Linked DNA regions of Homo sapiens: region 1 is linked to region 2. The links are contacts of gene promoters, found by promoter capture Hi-C in human tissues and cell types (Jung and others, 2019). All regions are on one chromosome and are shown on one strand. The core of a region is centred on a gene start or on the middle of the fragment in contact, and the rest is flanking DNA. Distances in the headings are between cores, read along the strand shown. Region 1 has its middle 98 kb from the start of PPP2R2B-IT1. Region 2 holds the start of GPR151 (G protein-coupled receptor 151).

Region 1 (4,918 bases), core at 1,002-3,501, 500 kb before region 2:
GAGAACATCTAGGCCAGGTTAATAGGGAGGCCCAGAGCAAAGACTGCCTTCTAGAGAAATCCTCTGTTGATAAGGAATGGCCAGATCTAGTACCCATGCTATACTCAGTCATCCCTCACAGCATGTTTTCCTTGAAACGAGATCTGAGCGGTGTATTCCCATAGCTCTCATACAGAAGAATCAGATCTAGCCTCGGAGGCTGAGAAAGGCTTCTCTAGGAAATATTTTAAATCATCTTTAAGTGATGGCTTTAACATCTCTTACATGCTACAATGAAAAGAGTAGGTATTCAGGTCACATAGGAGAATATTTCTTAGACTAGTTGTTAAGACAAGAGCCACCTTGCTATATTTTTGGTAGTAGATCCCAGATGCAAAGCACTCTGTGCTTTTAACATATCCTCTTTCAAAGTAATAGATAGACTTTTTAAAAAAAAACAAAACAAAACAAAAAACAAAGTAAAACTATTTGGCCAGCATTAGATCTCACTTCACCAGGTTTTGTAGCTCAATCCTTTCATTCAGGTCATTGTGAAATCTAAAATCTTCCTTTCCTCCCACCTTCATGTTGGTGGTGGATATTGTATACATACATTCCACTCCAAACATATTTTTGGTACTAATAAATTGCAAGGATGATCTTATTAACTTTCTTCTGTTTTGGTTGATAAAACAGTTCCAAGTAACAATTTATTCTGAATCTTTTCTATTTTAATTTGCTTTTCTTGACCTCAGCAGATCACAGTTGTATCTTCAAACAGCTACTGTTTTGAGTAACTTTGTTGAACAGCAGTTATTTAAATATTTATGGTCAATCTGTTCCAAAACAATATTGAAATCAACAGTGCACAGTTTAAGAAATACATAAAAATCAATGGGGCAAATTTATGTACCAGAAGATCTACATTTCTAACTAAGTGCCAGATTTTCCATTTATAATTTTTGCAAATGAAACACTTCGGGTAGTCATAAATACTGACCTCTCTGAACATTCCTTTGTGAATTATGATCTTGCAGTAATAAACAGAGAGCAGTATTTGATTTGTAGGCTGAACTATACAAAGCAAGAACTCAGTGCTAATGCTTTTGATCATTCTAATTCATTTTAACTGGCCAAGAGGGAGTTTTTTAAAATAATAACCACCATCATCTTCTGTTCTGAGTTTGCCTGATGTCTGTCTTTACATGTTTTTACCACAGTAGCTTTACCTAGTGTTGGGTCTGGCACCAGGAGGACATCACTAAATATTTGTTTTAAAAGCTGGTAGTCCAAAGCCAGCATGGAGCACTGCCTAATTCAGTCCATAACCCTTGTTCTCCTGCAAGGGGTCCCATGACAAATGAAACTAACACAACACCAACTCTGTTCCAGTCCTCTCCAGGTCCCAAATAATTTAGTTAACTAAGCTGGGTTTCTCATCGTTACATCAACATTTACTATATTTTCTAGAATCTAGATACATAACATTTCCTATTCAGAAAGGACCTTAGAAATAATAGAATCCAGTGATGACAAATATATTTGATTTTCTAAGCTCAATAAGGAAAAGTGTTTTTAAAAAATATATATAAAAAATGAGATCTTTTAAAGAGAGGTGAAGGCATGAATACTGGATATTGACCCTTCCAAATCGAGTCCAACTATCCCTCCTGACAGATGGCCATCAACCTCATCTTGAATACTTCCAAGACAGGAAAATACTGCCTTTCATGGTGGCTATGTCATGACTGGATGATAGAAAGTTGTTTCCAGTGGAAATCTGTGCTTCTGCAATTTCTACACTTTTATTTAGGTTCTGCCTTTCGAAGTCATACAAAATAAATTTACTCTTTCTATTCCATATAATAGTACTTTATATATTTGACAAGTTTTCTGAGGTCCCCTTTCTTTTTATTAGCTTCCAGCCTCTTAGCATTTTTGACATTCCTATCTATGATGCTTAACGCTTCTAAGTGTGTGTGTGTGTGTGTGTGTGTGTGTGTGTGTGTGCGCGCGCATGCATGTGTGTGTCGTAGACTATAATTCATCTGGGCCTGGAAGATTTCCTACATGCAAAACTACATGGTCCTGTCTTTATCATCTTCTAACTTATCTTGAGCCTTAATTGCTGCTTAAAGACATTGCTTTACCTTTCCAGCTTGAAGATCCTTAATTTTGTTAGGATAGACAAGCAACAGGAATGTTGGAAGCTTTTCTTTCACTGTCATTTGTTTACATGACATCATCTTTTCCAAGTGGCAGGCTTAACCCTGTCTTGTTTTCCTTCTCACTCTAAACCTAATTTACAATGCCTTTTGCCAAAGCTAAGAAACACTTTTTTGCTTGTATCTTACTTTACACTGCAGCTGCATTTGATACCATTGATCAATCCCTCTTTCCTGAAATTTTCTACCCTCTTAGCTTCAACAAATTTATTTTCATTTGATTTTTCTCTTCTCTTTCTCTTTGCATTCCTAATATGCTTCCTCTGTAGGCTCCTCCTCCTCTGCTTTAAATGCTGTGTTCACCAGAATTCTGTTCTCTACGTAAACTTCATCCTTGAGTTAGTTTACACACTCCCATGGTTTGAACCACTCTGTTTTCTAATGATAACAAATGTTATCTCCAGCTCGAATCTCTCCCTCCCCTAAGGTTAAGATGCTAAGCACAGACGTTCCAGTGTGACTGAAACTGAACTGTCATCTCCCTCCCACATGCCCAGCCTGTGTTCTGCTCTTTCTCTTCAAAGATGTCCTATGATTAGCATCACTGTCTGCACAATCATCCAAATAGAAACCCAGGTTCCTCCCTCCAAACCCATTCATAAAGCAATCACCAAATCCTGCTGATTCTATTGCCCACAGTTTTTGACTCCATCGCCTCTTGTATTATCCTACTTCTCTGGCTTGGGCATTCCATTTCTTTAGCTTGGAGTTTTTCAATAGCCCTGATGTGCATTTTTGTTTGTTTGCCTTTATTCTTGTATTCCTCAGATCTAGCCTCCACCCTGCAGCCAGAGCAATCTATCCAAAACTTAAATCTGACCATGTTCTTTCCCATTTAAAATACTTCATGTTTCTCCTTTACCTGCAAAATGGAGCTCTAGAGCATGACATGTAGGATATTCTGTAACTTGGCCAACAACTTTCTCTCCAACTTTGCATTTTCCTACTCCTTGCTCTGGAATAGAAGCTGTGATCATGCCTAAATGCTTATGAAATCCAGCATATATCATGCTATTTTGGATTTCAAGTCTTCTTGCCTTTTATTATGACATGTTTTCTGCCTGGATAGAATGCCCATTCTCTTGCCTTCTTTTGACTAGTTTTCACTCATCTCTAGTAGTTTAGCTCAGCTGCCATCTTCTCTAGAAAATATTTTCCCAACACAGAAGGATTGAATATACTGCCTTTGTGTTCCCATAGCACCCTAGACTTGCTTCTATTTTCCTCACTACATATATTGATTCCACAATGTATCTGTATATGTGACTGTGTCCCCTATGTTTTCTCAGACTTATTTTAGAAAAGCTTAGGTGGATATTTTTTAACTACAAGTCCTTTTTATATACAAGGAAATAAAATAAGAAAACCTAATGTTAGTAAGCTTCAAATTCTATGCTAACAACGTCTTAGAAGTAAAACAAAGTCATAAAGGAATAGAGTTACTTGTTAGAAGATGATTGTCCCCCCCAAAACTGCTATCATCTTTTTTTTTTTGAGACAGAGTCTTACTGTGTCACCTAGGCAGGAGTGCAGTGGTGCAGTCATAGCTTACTATAACCGCGAAGTCCTGGGTTCACACAATTCTCCTACCTCCTGAGTAGCTAGGACTACAGATGCATACCATCATGCCCACCCAGCTAACTTCTAAAAAAATTTTGTAGAGATGGATCTTGCCATGTTTCCCAGGCTGGTCTCGAACTCCTGGGACCAAGCAATGTACCTGCCTTGGCCTCTGTGCTGGGCCAACTTTTTAGCAAGTATTTTTGTTTTAACTTAGGGGACAAAGTGATGGTCTTGGTTCTCAAATTCTCTTAACACATATTTACTGAGTATCTATGTGTGTGTAGAGACAAATTAAGACATTTATTATGTTTTTAAGAAACTTACAATGTAACAGGAAATAATATACTCGTATTTCAAGGAAGAGATGATGGTGATGATACTGAAAATAGATATCATTTATTGAGAAAATAAGGGATTTCCATTATCTCAAATAATCTCATAATCATACTGCAAGTAAACTATTAGCATTCTTATATTAAGAATGTATATTACATTATTTTATATTATATTATATTAAGAATATATTAACTATATTAGCATTCTTATTTTACATTAAGAGAATAAAGATTCAAGAGTTAAGAAACATGCTCACGGTCACACTGTGAAGGCATGCAAATTTATGCTTAACCATAGCTATGCTCTCTGCAATACTGTGTTGTGTTATGAGAGTCAGCCAACCGTAAGACTCAGAGAAGGCAGAGACAGATGGTTTCCTGCTGGAGGAATCAGAGAAGGCTCCATGAAGGAGATGGCTTTTGATTTAGGCATTGAAATATGAGTAAAACTTGGACCTTCAGATTGGCAAATATAGATATGGAGGTGGGAAAGTGTACAGCACGCACAAAGCAAAGCAAGGGAGATCAGTTTGAATGGAGCAAAAGAATATTGATGAAGAAAATTCAAATGTCAGTAGAAGGTTCATGTAGGAGGTTCACATTGTTCCAACTAAGCAAGGTGAACTTCCTTTTACAGTCATATAAATTCAATGAGAATTTTAAAACAGGGCAATGATATGAGACGAATGTGGTCTATAAAATTGGGGAAAGGAGGGTCTGGAAGTGGTTCAGTCATTCATCTGATGAACATTTATTAAGCACCTTCTCTGTGTCAGGCACTGTTTTATGTACTAGGAAACATCGGTGAACAAAAAC
Region 2 (4,320 bases), core at 434-2,933:
CTTGCTGGAATAAGGTGTTGCCCCAATTTACTGTTCTATAGGAACAACTACTTCCCAGAGGTAAAAGGAAGGAAAGCAAAAGGAAATAGAAATGGAAACAAAGGAACCCAGCACCACTGACCACTGTCCCAATAGCTATACTGATCACTACTTATTTATTTTCTAGGACACTGAAGAATTTTAAAACGTCAGACCCTTCTTTACTTGCGAAAAACGTGAAAGCACAGTACCAGAATCCAGAGATCTGAATGCAGCAGCATACTCTCCTGTATATCATGCTTTAGCTTTTCTGACTAGCCACACTCAATGTAGCATGTATCTTCATATCAACCCCACAAACCCCATTCTCTGAACATTTTGAGCTCCTCTAATCCCCCCAGAGTATCCATTGCTTATTTTAAAATTTCAGGGCTAGTTCTACCAAATCATCTTATCTGAGAATTTTTTTATTTCTAGAGACAGAGGATCACTCTGTCACTCAGGTTGGAGTGCAGCAGCACAGTCATAGCTCACTGCAACCTCGAACTCCTGGGCTTAAGCAACCCTCTCACCTCAGTCTCTTAAGTAGCTAGGACTACAGGTGTACACCATCATGGCTGACTTTTTTTTTTTTCTTTTTTTTTTTTTTCTTGTTTGTTTGGTAGAGGTGGGGGCAGGGGTCTCACTTTGTTGCCCAGGCTGGTCTCGAACTTCTGGCCTTAAGCAATCCTCCCGCCTCCACCTCCCCAAATTCTGGGATTACAGGCATGAGCCAGTGTGCCCAGCACAAAATCTTTACCAACTTTAAAATATAATTTAAAAAAATCTCTTAAATGCCTTCCACATAGATATTGATTTTTCTTTCATTTCTCTTGTCTTGGTAAATCCTCTAGGAATGCTCTCTGAAAAGCAGCTTAATTCATCATGCAGTTGCCTTCATCACCATCACTTGTTGAAAAGTCTTATTAGTATGTAAAGCAGTTCTAATTTGGAGCTGTAAAATTGCTTCTAAAAACTCGTAATAGAATAAACTGAGAGTCATCCATAATTAGATTTTTTTAATAGGACTTCTAACTTGTTTTCATTATCCAGCTGTGTTTGAACTCAGCCAGCTGTTGATGGAACTGAGGTGGTTGTAAGGGTTGGGGAAAAGAAGAGGAAGCTCATCTCTGCAGAGTGGGTAGGGGAAGCTTTAGTTCTCAGTTTAAAACAGTGGTTCTCAAAGTGTGGTCTCCCAACCTGCAGCATCAGAGTCTCATGGGAACTTGTTAGAAATGATTTCTTGGGCCCTACTCCAGACCCACTGGATCCGGCCATCAGGTGAAGTTCAAAGAACTTGGTTCAGATGTAGTGTTCACTAAATTACAGACAGCAGTCAAGATTTTAGGAAGAGCTGGTTGAAAATAATTGCCTTGACTGGCTCTAGTGACCCCCCAAGGAACACATGCCACTTACATGTATGTTCTCTTCATTCATCATTTATGGGTATATTTGTATTACTCCACAGGGCTGACGATTTGGTATTAGACTTGCTAATGAGCAGCAGCCATGTGCTCCTGCTATCTGACAGTCGGTACAGTCACAAGTATATTGTATGCAGCAGAGAAGAGCTTAACAGCCAGCCTCCTTCCACATTCTGCTCTCAGGAAATAAGCAAGGGGAGGATCCAGAAGTGTCATTTGACACTGACGACAGAGTACTTATTTCCTATGCAAAAGAGCCCAGGCAGAAAGACAAACCTAAATAAGAATCTAACTTCTGTAAGAAGCTGTGAAGAGTGATGCTGGCAGCTGCCTTTGCAGACTCTAACTCCAGCAGCATGAATGTGTCCTTTGCTCACCTCCACTTTGCCGGAGGGTACCTGCCCTCTGATTCCCAGGACTGGAGAACCATCATCCCGGCTCTCTTGGTGGCTGTCTGCCTGGTGGGCTTCGTGGGAAACCTGTGTGTGATTGGCATCCTCCTTCACAATGCTTGGAAAGGAAAGCCATCCATGATCCACTCCCTGATTCTGAATCTCAGCCTGGCTGATCTCTCCCTCCTGCTGTTTTCTGCACCTATCCGAGCTACGGCGTACTCCAAAAGTGTTTGGGATCTAGGCTGGTTTGTCTGCAAGTCCTCTGACTGGTTTATCCACACATGCATGGCAGCCAAGAGCCTGACAATCGTTGTGGTGGCCAAAGTATGCTTCATGTATGCAAGTGACCCAGCCAAGCAAGTGAGTATCCACAACTACACCATCTGGTCAGTGCTGGTGGCCATCTGGACTGTGGCTAGCCTGTTACCCCTGCCGGAATGGTTCTTTAGCACCATCAGGCATCATGAAGGTGTGGAAATGTGCCTCGTGGATGTACCAGCTGTGGCTGAAGAGTTTATGTCGATGTTTGGTAAGCTCTACCCACTCCTGGCATTTGGCCTTCCATTATTTTTTGCCAGCTTTTATTTCTGGAGAGCTTATGACCAATGTAAAAAACGAGGAACTAAGACTCAAAATCTTAGAAACCAGATACGCTCAAAGCAAGTCACAGTGATGCTGCTGAGCATTGCCATCATCTCTGCTCTCTTGTGGCTCCCCGAATGGGTAGCTTGGCTGTGGGTATGGCATCTGAAGGCTGCAGGCCCGGCCCCACCACAAGGTTTCATAGCCCTGTCTCAAGTCTTGATGTTTTCCATCTCTTCAGCAAATCCTCTCATTTTTCTTGTGATGTCGGAAGAGTTCAGGGAAGGCTTGAAAGGTGTATGGAAATGGATGATAACCAAAAAACCTCCAACTGTCTCAGAGTCTCAGGAAACACCAGCTGGCAACTCAGAGGGTCTTCCTGACAAGGTTCCATCTCCAGAATCCCCAGCATCCATACCAGAAAAAGAGAAACCCAGCTCTCCCTCCTCTGGCAAAGGGAAAACTGAGAAGGCAGAGATTCCCATCCTTCCTGACGTAGAGCAGTTTTGGCATGAGAGGGACACAGTCCCTTCTGTACAGGACAATGACCCTATCCCCTGGGAACATGAAGATCAAGAGACAGGGGAAGGTGTTAAATAGATTTAAGTTTCAAAGCAAAACAAACTGTGATTATTGTATTTACTTGTACTGCTGCTTATCAATATTGCTGACTTTACAAACTGATATAATTATTACCATTAGGAATTATAAAAATATTTCACAATCTACACTTTCCAAATGTGCAATGTGGTAAGTAGAGAACCATGTTAGAAGTAATAATTGTTTCAGAATTAGAACTTGGCTTCCCAAACAATTTAAGTGTTGTGTAAAGATGTTGCTGTCAAAGTGATTAGACAGCCTGGCTATTCTGTCATTTGTTCACAGTGGTTTTACTGGGTACCCCCTAGGACCAGCCCTGTAGTGGACCGGCTGGAGCCTGCAGTAGAGGTTCTGTCAAAGCTGAGCCCCTTTACCTTCAGTTTCACCCAGGACCTGCTAGTCCTAATTTTACCTACTAAATTGTATTTCACATAACCAAAGCTCAAAATCTACTTTCACTTGAGATTTTTAACACATTAATGATAAATTTTAATGCGTTCTTCATTTACTTAATAAGTGTTAATTTACTTGATGAAAAGTCCGTATCATAATGTTCATGACTGAAGGTCAAAGAAAAAGAAACAGCACCTTATTCCAATTCTGGACTCATTTCAAGCCATGGCTGGTTCTGGCCAAGTTTAAATAAATTCAAACTTAAACTAAAGCCTGCTTCAGTGAACTTTTTAAAGCTACCTGAATGAGTCTTCAGTTTCTAAGTCTAAGAATTGTAGCAGCTTTCCAATGACATTCAGTAGTCTGATATGGGGGAAAAAATACTTAAAAAAATGTCCTCTCTTCACTTCCAAAATGTGGGAAAGTTATTTTTCTATAAGCAGAAATGTGTTCCTCCTAATATCTCCTTTCTCCCAAGATAAACCATGGTTAATGATATAGGTATAGATTACTCCTCAAATACAAATAGAAGATGGAGATGGTGATCTTTCTTGTTAATGGTACTAAACTTACCCTTACTCAGAACATTGAACTTGAACCCTACTCAACTTTTAAAATACTATAGGCTAAGTTATAAAAATAATCTAGCAACCTGAGAAAGAGATTAATATCAAAAAGAGAAAATTCAACAAACCAAGACAGAATTTGGTTAAGAATACAAAATAAAAAGCATAAGGGCAATGCAGAAAGCAGTAAAACTGTGTACCCAGACATACGGTAAAATCTGAGTAACAGGCAATAACCATTCATTTTATAGCAAGGTAAAACATACCCAATAAAACATGATTATGATATATTTCTGCCCCTTTTAAGTATAATGACATTCACCCATGATTCTTGATTACTTT

Evidence for each region. Contacts are between HindIII fragments. The study calls those that stand out against the background at their distance.
Region 1: a fragment that was not itself captured here is called in contact with the fragment with the promoter of GPR151 in region 2 in 2 of the 25 tissues and cell types used here (H1 embryonic stem cells and hippocampus).

What each region holds. Positions count from the first base shown.
Region 1 is chr5:147,015,115-147,020,032 of GRCh38, reverse strand. It overlaps a transcript of PPP2R2B not described here. Among named protein-coding and RNA genes, the nearest start is that of PPP2R2B-IT1, 98 kb to the right of the region's middle. The HindIII fragment of the contact is 7,167 bases long and covers 1-4,918 here.
Region 2 is chr5:146,513,553-146,517,872 of GRCh38, reverse strand. It overlaps GPR151 (G protein-coupled receptor 151), which reads left to right and starts at 1,683. Exons shown (of 1, transcript NM_194251.3): 1 at 1,683-4,320. The coding sequence starts at 1,760. The coding sequence ends at 3,019. The HindIII fragment of the contact is 7,544 bases long and covers 1-4,320 here.